Regions from separate parts of the Homo sapiens genome. Here region 1 is linked to region 2. Evidence: promoter capture Hi-C in 16 types of primary human blood cells and fetal thymus (Javierre and others, 2016). All regions are on one chromosome and are shown on one strand. The core of a region is centred on a gene start or on the middle of the fragment in contact, and the rest is flanking DNA. Distances in the headings are between cores, read along the strand shown.

The links. Contacts are between HindIII fragments. The CHiCAGO score rates a contact against its expected background, and 5 or more counts as called.
Region 1: a contact is called between a fragment that was not itself captured here and the fragment with the promoter of FLACC1 in region 2, in 2 of 17 cell types (endothelial precursors and M2 macrophages). The highest score is 6.9, in endothelial precursors.

The regions. Positions count from the first base shown.
Region 1 is chr2:201,180,581-201,186,471 of GRCh38, reverse strand. It overlaps CASP10 (caspase 10), which reads right to left and starts at 3,331. Exons shown (of 10, transcript NM_032977.4): 1 at 3,164-3,331; 2 at 348-701. The coding sequence starts at 694. The HindIII fragment of the contact is 2,882 bases long and covers 628-3,509 here.
Region 2 is chr2:201,354,408-201,360,111 of GRCh38, reverse strand. FLACC1 (flagellum associated containing coiled-coil domains 1) reads left to right here and starts at 2,767. Exons shown (of 15, transcript NM_001127391.3): 1 at 2,767-3,130. The HindIII fragment of the contact is 10,294 bases long and covers 1-5,704 here.

The DNA of each region.
Region 1 (5,891 bases), core at 819-3,318, 170 kb after region 2:
GTAGACAGACTAGTGGATCCCAGGAGGGAGAAGATCTGCACGTGTAGCCGCTGGTAAGCAGGGAAAACACGGGCTCTGCCACACTGAGGTGGGCTTCACTGCTAGTGAGAAGCAAAACAAAGGGAAGCCACCTCTGGGCCCAGGGCTTGGTCTTGAAGCTTTGCTGACCTCCCAACTCTTATCTCATTAGCATCAGAGGCTGAGAAGGAGGTTTAGAATCTCCTGGTTTATCATCCAAGGAGGTAGATAACCAAAAGATCTTAACTGCAGCTTCCTTTCAAAGCCCAATGGCCAGAATGAACACTAGATGGGAGATCCTCCCATCTCCACCACAGACCCGTCCTCACCTAAACAGAGAAACCCTTTGTCGGGTGGGCAGCAGTCGCTCCACTTCCTCTTTGGTACAGTTGAGGTGCTGCAGCAGCTTCTTCTGCCGTATGATATAGAGGAGTTCTGCCAGGAAGAAAGGGTCTTCCTCACTCAGCAGATCCTCTGCCAAGAGATGTTCAAAAACATCTGAGGCTGAGCTGGACTTCTCCAGCTTCTTGTTGGGGACCAATCCTATGCAGAGAAACTTGAGGTTCTCCACATCTTGGACCCCCAGGTTTGAATCAATAATCAGAAGCTTCTCACGAAAGCTCACTTTACAGTTTTTATCTGAACTGGAATACCAATGTTGACCTTGAGATTTCATGGCCAGCCTGAAAGGGACAGAGAGGTGGGGCAGGGAGTTAGAGAGTGAGGACATATGGCCCCCTGACTTCCCAGGCCCTCCCCTCACCACAACCTTCTCCGTTCTGGGCATTAGACTTTCCTAGAAGTGCTGAAAAATAAAAATTACGGCGAGGCTACTTCAAAAAGCAACAGCCCAGAAAACTTTTCCCCAACACTTGCAAGTTACTTTTTAGGAAACTTGGAGGGTGCTTATATTGGAATTCAATTCACCTTGATTTCTCCCAAATCAAAATGTTCCCAGAGAGAGAAAGTTAAGATGGAGGGACACAGCACAATTTTTCTCAAGCCTGGTAGCCTGATTGGAGCCCTTACATTCATTTCCAGCACGTGGCAGAAATAGCACTTGGCTCTATGCTTTAAGTTTTAGACACAAAGCAATCTGGGGGAGGCAGGGTTATCCTTATGATCTATCAACCCAAAGACAGCAAGGTACCGTGAGGTATGTGTGTTACATCTTAACTTCAGACTGCTACCTGTAAGAGGGCAGGCCTTTATCTTACAGAAAGGGAAGGCATAATCCTAGACCTCAAGCCTGAGCAACATGGCGAGACCTGGTCTCTACTAAAAATACAAAAAATTATCAGGGCATGGTGGCACATGCCTGTGGTCCCAACTACTCAGGAGGCCGAGGATGGAAGGATCATTTGAGCCTGGGGAGCACAGGTTGCAGTGAGCCATGATCATGCCACTGCACTTCACCCTGGGTGACAGAGTGAGACCCTGTTTCAAAAAGAAAAATAAATAAATAAAATATCCTAGACCTCAGGAGGAAAGGGTGGTTTTAGACAAGAGTTGCTCAAATCAGTGTAGGAAGTTAAAAATTACATGAGTCGGCTGCTCTGTCTATGGAGTAGCCATTCTTTTGTTTCTTTACTTCTCTAATAAACTTGTTTTCACTAAAAAAAAACAAATTACATGAGTCAATGTTTCCATCTGATCAGTTTATAAACTATGCTATTCTCTATACTAAATTTCATCATAATCAGAGGAGCAATGCAGTGATAAAATTTTCATTGTAATACTATTTATTCTATAAGCACTTGAGGTATGTAGTCAATATGCAGAACTTGGCTATTTTTAGAAACAAGAAAATACTTTATAAAGGAAGGAACAGGTGGGGTGTCATGGCTTACGCCTATAATCCCAGCACTTTGGGAGGCCAAGGCGGGTGGATCACTTGAGGCCAGGAGTTCAAGACCAGACTGGGCAACGTGGTAAAACCCCATCTCTACAAAAAATACAAAAATTAGCCAGGCATGGTGGTGCACGCCTGTGGTCCCAACTACTCAGAGGGCTGAAGCAGAAGGATCATTTGAGCCCCGGGGATGGAGGTTCCAGTGAGCCATGATTGTGCCACTGCACTCCACCCTGGGTGACAGAGCAAGACCCTGCCTCAAAAACAAAACAAAACAACAACAAAAAAACCTCCTAGACCTCAGAAGGAAAGGGTGATTTTAGACAAGAGTTGCTCAAATCAGCGAAGGAAGATAAAAATTACATGAGTCAATGTTTCCATCTGACTAGTCTATAAACTATGGTATTCTACATACTAAATTTCATTATAATCAGAGAAGCACTTCAGGAGACTGAGGCAGGTGGATCACTGTGAGGCCAGGAATTCGGGACAAGCCTGGGCAACACGGTGAAACCCCGTCTCTACAAAAAATACAAAAATTAGCTGGGCTTGGTGGTGTATGCCTGTGGTCCCAGCTTCATAGGAAGCTGAGATGGGAGGATTGCTTGAACCTGGGAGGCGGAAGTTGCAGTAAGCCAAGATTGTGCCACTGCACTCCAGCTTGAGTGCTGGAGGGTGAAAGAGGGAGACTCCGTCTCAAATAAATAAATAGATAAATAAATAAATAAATAAATAAATAAATAAAGGAAGGAAGACACAGCAAAAATCAAAACCTCCATAACAAACAGTGGTTATATCGAGGTGACATAACTATAGATAATACAAATTTCCTTCTGGGCTTCCAATTGAATTTCTCAAATTTTATGCATATGTGAGCATACACATTACTTTTGGTGTTAAAAGAAACAAAAAAATGTCATTTTTAATGTGATAATCCAGGGGATCTTCCCTGCTACTAGCCCTGAGGTCAAATGAGTGGTTTATTGGAGACACCTTTCTATTCTACCGCATCTAGCATTTGCCTTGTGGTTTCTTGACAATTCTGATCTCTAGTTTTAGTGAGTCTACCAAACTTTGTCTCTGTGAGCTAACATATTTCTGCCCCGGTAAAAGGCTATGTTGGAGGCTTCCGGATTTTTTAACTTTTGTTTTCCCAGGCATGACAAAGAAATCTAAGAAAAAATAGTGCCATTGCTGACAAGTTTTTGCAAGTTTCTACAACACGAAGCCATGAAGCAAAGGAAAAGATTCAAGCATGAGACTCTGGAGTAAGAAGGGTTGTTAATTACATACCTTCAGATCAAGCTCCACCAATCTTCTGGAAGTAAACGGTTCTCAGGGAAATTGCCTGAAAACAAAGTTTTAAAGAAAGTAGAATCCTCTGTGTGCTCCAAGGTCCAAAGAAGCTCCCATTTGCTTGGGAAGAGACTTCAAGACTTGCTGGTTGTTTAAGTGAAAACTGAATCTTCAGGACTGGGTAGCCTGATACTAGTTTCCTGCTGATGTCATCACTGCTTATCTGCCTTTTTCCCTCCCCTTTTCCAGGGTTAAGATAACTTTGACAAACAGCGTCTCCTAAAGGCTAATTTACAACTTTCTCACTGTAGAGCTTGGGGTTTCCCCAGGTAAAGCAAAAGCTTCCTAGAAACGAACCCGTGGAAGCCACAAAGTGCTTCAGGCTTTCCTTTGGATCTCCATTTCCTTGGTAAGTCAAAAAGGGAAGCATCTGTTTTCCTAACCAACTCCTTCCCCAAACACACTTCACTTTTCAAATAAAGCCAAAAAGCTCATGAAATAGTTGTCGGCCATGTTAACCCTTTCTTATGTCCACATGCAAATAAACAATGGAGCGATCTCCACTTACCGCAACCTCTGCCTCCTGTGTTCAAGTGATTCTCCTGCCTCAACCTCCCGAGTAGCTGGGATTACAAGCATGCGCCACCACGCCCGGCTAATTTTTTGTATTTTTAGTAGAGACGAGGTTTCACCATGTTGGCCAGGCTGGTCTCGAACTCCTGAGCTTGTGATCCACCCTCCTTGGCCTCCCAAAGTGCTGGGATTACAGGCATGGAGCCACCGTGCCCGGCCCACAAATAAAATTTTTAAAAGATAAAAGAAAAGTGGGGATTCACTTTCAGTCTTTGTGGGAGAAATTAAGAAATAAAAAGAAAAAGAAAGGAAAAAAAAAAGAAAAGTGGGGATGGTGAATTACAAGCCCATTTGGAGGTACCTGCAAGAGACTCAACAAATTTGTGGTAGGCAAAACTGACAGTATGTGTTCTCACAGCACATTCAAACCAGCAGGAAAGTGAGACTTTGAAGACATTATTTCTAATCATAAAAACAATACTGCACACTAATATTGCAACTACCATGTGCCAGGGCATTTACAAATATTTACTCATTTCACCATCCCAACAACACTGTAAGATAAATACTATTACTATGACTGCTGCTTTAACATGTGAAAACTAAGGCACAGAAAGGTTAATTAATTTGCCCAAGGTCACACAGTGAGCGGCTGGAAGAGCCAAGATTTAAACCAGCAAGTTTGGATCAAAGTCACTACACTATAATTAAGCTAACTCAAATGTGCAGCACTCTGGAAAGAGGTACAGAGTCTTAGAAAGATGTTTTATCTATGGGGAAAAAAAGCAAGATTTATGATGCTTTGATTAGCAAATGTATTAAAATGTCCTTTCCATGTCCTAGGCATCATTCAGAGAACTTCTGTGCTTAAGAAAGACAAGTCCTGGGGCCAGGTGCAGTGGCTCCCGCCTGTAATCCCAGCACTTTGGGAGGCTGAGGCAGGCGGATCACGAGACCAGCTTGGCCAAGATGGTGAAACGCTGTCTCTACTACAAATACAAAAAATTAGCTGGGCGTGGTGGCACACACCTGTAATCCTAGCTGCTCGGGAGGTTGAGGCAGGATAATCGCTTGAAGGCAGGAGGTGGAGGTTGCGGTGAGCGGATATCACGCCATCACACTCCAGCCTGGGCTACAGAGCAAGACTCCTTCTCAAAAAAAAAAAGAAAAGAAAAAGACAAGTCCTGGCCAGGCACAGTGGCTCACACCTGTAATCCCAGCACTTTGGGAGGCTGAGGTGGGCAGATTGCTTGAGGTCAGGAGTTCAAGACCAGCCTGGCCATCATGGTGAAACCACATCTCAACTAAAAACATAAAATTCGCCAGGCTTGGTGGCACATGCCTGTAATCCCAGCTACTAGGAGGCTGAGGCTGGAGAATCGCTTGAACCCGGGAGGCAGAGGTTGCAGTGAGCCAAAATCGTGCCATTGCACTCCAGCCTGGGCGACAGAGAAAGACTCTCTCAAAAAAAAAAAAAAAAAAAACCTTCTTGGGAAAGGGGGGCCGGAGCACAGCAGGCTGGGTTACTCACTACCCCAGTTCCAGGGAAGGTGGGGCCCTGACCCTAGAATGCTGCAGCAGAGTGAGGAGGGGGCCCCAACTGACCATAAAGAGTGTAGGGACCACCTTCTTTGCCTGTTCTGTTGGGACCAGGCTAGTCATTATTTGTCCCAGCCTGGGGCTCCCCCTGTGGTTTCCAATTTGCAGTTACTTTAACTTAAAATATAAATATTATTTTCTGGAAAATAACTTAAAAAGGAAGAAAGACAAGCCGTAAGTCTTGGTCTTCTATTTAGTTGTTTTATTATAAATATTAAATTTATTGGGCCATTTAGGGAGGCAACTTATTGAAACTATCACTTTCTCTCACTCTGTTCATAAAGTATATTAACTCTTTCAACTTTGATTCAATAATATTAAATATTTAGCAGGCAATTCAAAGCCCTGAATTGGGCACAATTGGAAAGCAAAGTGACCTGCTTTCCATAGTAACTATGGCGACCGGTACTACCATTTCTAAACTTCTCTGATGAACTCATAACAACTCCCAGCCTTAGCTGGCATTATTATCCACATTCAATAGATGAGGAAACCCAGATTCAGAGAGGCAAGGAATCTTGCCACCATCCCAAAGCTATGAGCAAGAATTCAG
Region 2 (5,704 bases), core at 1,518-4,017:
CTCATGTCCAAAAAGATGAAAGGAGAATGGGGATACCCAAGTAGTAGTAATTAGTGCTGAGCCTTTGCCAAGTCGAGTGGCTGGGGTATTCCTTCAGCACTTACTTCCTCTGTATCTCTGTTTTTAGCCATGCTTCACTCAAGACCCAAATCCTGCTGCTTTTTTTTTTTAATCATAAGAAAGGATTTAAATATAAAATTTTACACATTAAACACACTCAAAGTAAATATTCAATCTCTGGATGGAGACAGATTGTCTAGATGACTAATAGAGTCTATCAATTCTTCTCTAAGTTATTTCCCTCCTTTTAATCTTTGAAAGTCTCTCTTCATCTAGCCTGTTCATGGTGCTCAGAGTTGAAGCAGCCATAGTGCAACCAAGACGCTTCCCTCCATCAACACACCGAGGCTGGCATAACAGAGAGATGGAAAGAGCCCAGTTCTCCAAGGACATTGCTGAATCTTTGCACCAACTCTGATAGCACTGCCTCCAGACTCTATTTCATGAGGTTAATAAACCTCTTTGATGTAAGCCACTTGCAATCAAGCAACAGGTCTATGCATTTTAACTACACATGGCCCACACTGAGAAATCTTGTCGTAAATACTGGTGTCCTCAGAGCTCTGTTCTAGACCCTCTTCTCTCCTTACACAATACTCTCTCTATATGTGATCTCACTCGCTCCCTTGGCTTGGAATAGTATCCACTCTGAAGACTCCTAAATCTGCTTCTAGGCCAGAATCTTCCTCTGAACTTCTAAAATATGTAAGAAACTCTAACAGACGTCACCACTTGTCTATTAGTCTCCCTGCACCTCAACATATCCAAAACTGAACTAATAATCTGCTCCCTAGAACCTGTTTATCCCTCCACACTTTCCTATCTCAATAAATGGCACCACGGTCAACTCAATTGCTCGAGCTGGAAAGCCAGGAATCATCACCTTCTCCTTTTCGCTCATCCCAGCATCCAGTCAATCACCAAGTTCTATCATGTCTTCTCTCCATCCCCACTGCTGCTCCTCAGTCAGGGCCATCGTCAGGTCCCATGACGACCACTGCCACAGACTTTTACCTGGTTTTCCTGGCCCTTCCAATTGCTTCCCTATATTGCAGTCAGAATGATCTTTCTGATATGTAGATCTAGTCAGATCTCTTCTCTGTTTAACACTGCTGCCTGACTCACTGGACTAGAAGAGTAACTCCTGCTATGAACTCCCACTGCTTCTGGCAAGTCTCAATATGAGTCATTGTGGCTGCATGGTGACTTACACCTGTAATCCCAGCACTTTGGGAGGCCGAAGCAGGAGGATCACTTGAATTCAGGAGTACAAGACCAGCCTGGACAACATAGCAAGGCCTCATGTATACTAAAAGTCAAAAAAATTAGCTGGGCGGCCGGGCGCAGTGGCTCACGCCTGTAATCCCAGCACTTTGGGAGGCCGAGGCGGGCGGATCACGAGGTCAGGAGATCGAGACCATCCCGGCTAAAACGGTGAAACCCCGTCTCTACTAAAAATACAAAAAAATTAGCCGGGCGTAGTGGCGGGCGCCTGTAGTCCCAGCTACTTGGGAGGCTGAGGCAGGAGAATGGCGTGAACCCGGGAGGCGGAGCTTGCAGTGAGCCGAGATCCCGCCACTGCACTCCAGCCTGGGTGACAGAGCGAGACTCCGTCTCAAAAAAAAAAAAAAAAAAAAAAATTAGCTGGGCATGGTGCTGTGCACCTGTGTAGTCCCATCTACTTGGGAGTCTGAGGCAGAAGGATCGCTTGAGTCCAGGAGGTCAAGGCTGCAGTGAGCTATGCATGCAGCCTGCACTGCCACTGCCACTGCACCGCAGCCTGGGTAACAGAGTGAGCTACTGTCTCAAAGGAAAAAAAAATTAATTATGCTTTTATTGAGCTTTTTTATTGTCTGTTTTCTCATTGGTCTCTAAGTTGTATTGAGTATAAGAACTGAGGTATATCCCCACACCTAGCAATAGTGCCTGGCACACAGTAGACAACAAATGTGAAGTTGAGTGAATAGATGAATTTATAACAATATTTTGTAAGCTAGGGGTTGTGACCCACCAGGATCATGAAATCAATCTAGTGGATTATAATCAGCTTTAATTTAAAGAAGAAAAAGAAATAGAAGAGAATAGCAAATAATAAGAGTATTATTTCATGAAATTTTTTTATTACAAAATTTGTAAAATGTATTTCTTATAATGAGTGGCAGTAAAACTAAAATGAAAGCCACTGGGTTGTAATAAGCAAGTACTTTTTTCTATAGTAAGAAAAAGCAGCTTTATTTAAAAAAAAAAATCGGAAAACCTTGTGACTGCAAAAGATTCCTGCCTTGGGGGATTTTTACTTTCACAGATTTCAAAGCCTTAAACTCGAGGGAAAAAAGTGTCTAGAGTTTTAGGTTTCTGTGAGTAGATCACAGAGGAATTAAAAATCCATCACAGATCCTGCCTGGTAACTATTGCCATAGACCAATGAAGCCTAAAAGTGCTGTTGAATTCTATTTCCTCTGAAGATATATCTTAAACTTTTTTGTCCCATGACTGATGACGAAAGTGGAAATCCAGTGTTAAAAGTATGAATTCTTTGCTGTTGAGGGTGGTCACTGATTTGTGTCTTGGAGAATTTAATTGGCTGTTTCTCCCAACCTTCTCTCTTGAAGAAAAGAGCCCTGAGCCAATGAGGAGCTACTGTTCTGTGTCCATAGCAACAAAATAAACAAACTTTGGCCTGCCATCTCCCAAGGGCAAACCTCACAACTCAGGCCCAAGTCACAGGAATCTGAATGGTGGGGTGACCTTCTCCTCTAGTTTAATTTCATTGCAATACTGAGAAACTTCAACTGTTTTGTCTTTAGAAGGGAAATTCATGTTTGTGCCAGGCCAGCCTTTGTAAAAGCCTTTGATTGGATTCACTAGAAGTCTGTCTTCCCGCAGTACATATACTGTGAATTTTCTCCTTCGGCATTTCAACCACTTGGAATGGCCACTAAAGTGGCTTTTGATCTAAAGTAAACTCTGATTCTGTGTTGATGGGGAACCATTTCTCTCTAACATGGTGGTTTCTTTAAGATGTTTGACTTGGGCCACATGAGAATAACAGATCTTTGGGCAGTCCAAGGTAAGCTCTTTGGAAAAGATGTTTTATATTATTTTTTCTACTGATTATTAATACTAACCAGTAACTTCTCTGAAGCCTCTGCCGGCTCACTGGTGACTATTGTTAGGGCAAGCCTCAGGTAAAATCATCAGGTAGAAGTGCAGGAAAGGGAAAAAAGGGGGAGAAAAAATCCTTACACACACTCACACACCCCTCTATAATTAGAGCTATATGATGTCAAGCCACTGTAAATGCAGATCTATCTGTGATGACATGGAAATATCAACTAGATATCCTGTTACACAAAAAGAACAAGATGCAACATTGTGTGCAAAGTATGCTCTCACTTATGCAAATAATTTAAAAAATCTATTATGCTTCTCTACAGGTTAAGTTCTATATGCAAAACATTTAAGGTTATATGCACTCACAACATTTCTGGAAGGATGCCCCAAAAATCTGTTAGAAGTAGTTCCCACTTAAGAAGCTATGAGAAGTCAAGGGCTGATTTTAGCTACTGAAATATTAAAATACTGCCATATAGGCAGGGCACGGTAGCTCACACCTGTAATCCCAGCACTTTGGGAGGCTGAGATGGGTGGATCACCTGAAGTCAGGAGTTTGAGACCAGCCTGGCCAATATGGTGAAACCCCATCGTTATAAAAATACAAAAATTAGCCAGGCATGGTGGCGGGTGCCTGTAATTCCAGCTACTGGGGAAGCTGAGGCAGGAGAATCGCTTGAACCTCGGAGGTAGAGGTTGCAGTGAGCCAAGACCACACCATTGCACTCCAGCCTAGGCAACAAGAGCAAAACTCCGTCTCAAAACAATAATAATAATAAATAAAATACTGTCATATTGATTGGTAGATGACCATTGTCCAAGCCCCTTGCATGTCCTCCTTGCCACCTTGGTTGTCCCAACTCCTCCCCTGGCACCCCCAGACCACCTCATGATTCAGCAACTAAGGGGTTAATGCCTGGCATGGAGGTGGGAGTGAGATCTCCCAGGACCCTGTTCCAACCCTGGTTGATTATTCAATAGCCTTGTCTTACTGGTTGTTAAATATTTTGAGTATCACTCCCATGGGTGTTCAAAGAAAAAGGCCTTTATTTTTATTTTATTTATTTATTTATTTTTTAGAGACAGGGTCTTGTGCTGTCACCCAGGCTGAAATGCAGTGGTGTGGTCCTAGCTCACTGCAACTTCAAACTCCTGGCCTCAAGTGATCCTCCCGCACCACCTGCCAAGTGGCTGGGACTACAGGCACACTCCACCATACTAGGCTATTTTTAAAATTTTTTGTAGATACAGAGTCTCGATATGTTTCCCAGGCTGGTCTCAAACTCCTAGCCTCAAGCGACTCTCCCACCTCAGTCTCTCAAAGTGTTGGGATTACAGACATGTGCCACCACACCTGTGAGGCCTTCTTTTTTTTTTTTCTTAAGAGCAAAAGAATATATACCAAGACATTGTTTATCATGGGAAAGAGGAAAAGGAAACAACTACACATTCATCAAAGATCATTGAAAATCTATGTAAAACTCCACTGAGTGATTGTATCACCCATACAATTTACCTCTGCTTTCTGGCTTTTGAATGCAAATGTTTAATGTTATTTATAATATGGTAATGACGATTACAACATTTTGGCAGTTTCATCTGTGAATCTCTTTTCTCTTTGTTTTTGTTTTTTGTTTTATTCATTTATTTATTGAGACAGAGTCTTGTTCTGTCATCCAGGCTGGAGTGCAGTGGTGAGATCTCGGCTCACTGCAACCTCCACCTCCCAGGTTCAAGTGATTCTCCTGCCTTAGCCTCCCGAGTAGCTGGGATTACAGGCATGTGCCACCATGCCTGGCTAATTTTTGTGTTTTTAGTAGAGACGGGGTTTCGCCCTGTTGGCTAGGCTGGTCTCGAACTCCTGGCGTCAAGTGATCCTCTCGCCTTGGCCTCCCAAAGTGCTGGAATTACAGGCATCAGCCACCATACCATCTTTTTCTCTTTGTTGAGCTAGCCCCAACCACCATGATGAGCTGATTACAACCACTAAGTTTACTAGTCAGGTAAGAAATATTCATCAAATGCCCGTTGTGGACAAGCCACTTTGCAAGGCTTAGTGGAGGTGTTGAGGCACAGAGAGCACTCCATAGTGGAGTCCTGGCCTTCAAGAAGAGAGAAGGCAGTTGCTAGAAGTGGGCCTGCCTTAGCCTCTCACTTCTTGCCCCATGGACTCCTGCTAAATCTCCCAAGTTCAGGGTTGGCTCCTTTCGTACAGGAAGCAGATACAAGGTTCTAAGCAGAAGCAGTTTCTTTTTTGCTACTGTTGTAGCCTTCTTTCAGACTCTCACCTGAATTCCAGCCCCTTGTAGCATCATCTTCCCACCTGGGCACTCGATCCCATCTGCTTCTCTGACCTCATCTCCTTGACTTGGCCCTAACAGGCCCCCAAACCCAGTGGAGTATGGACAGTTATAAATGGCGGCCCTGTCACCTGCTCTTCAGGCCTTTGCTGTTTAGCCAGTCTCCTGGACTCCTTTCTAGCCCTGGACTCCTTTCTAGCCCTGACCTCTATTGCAGAAGACTCCCTAGT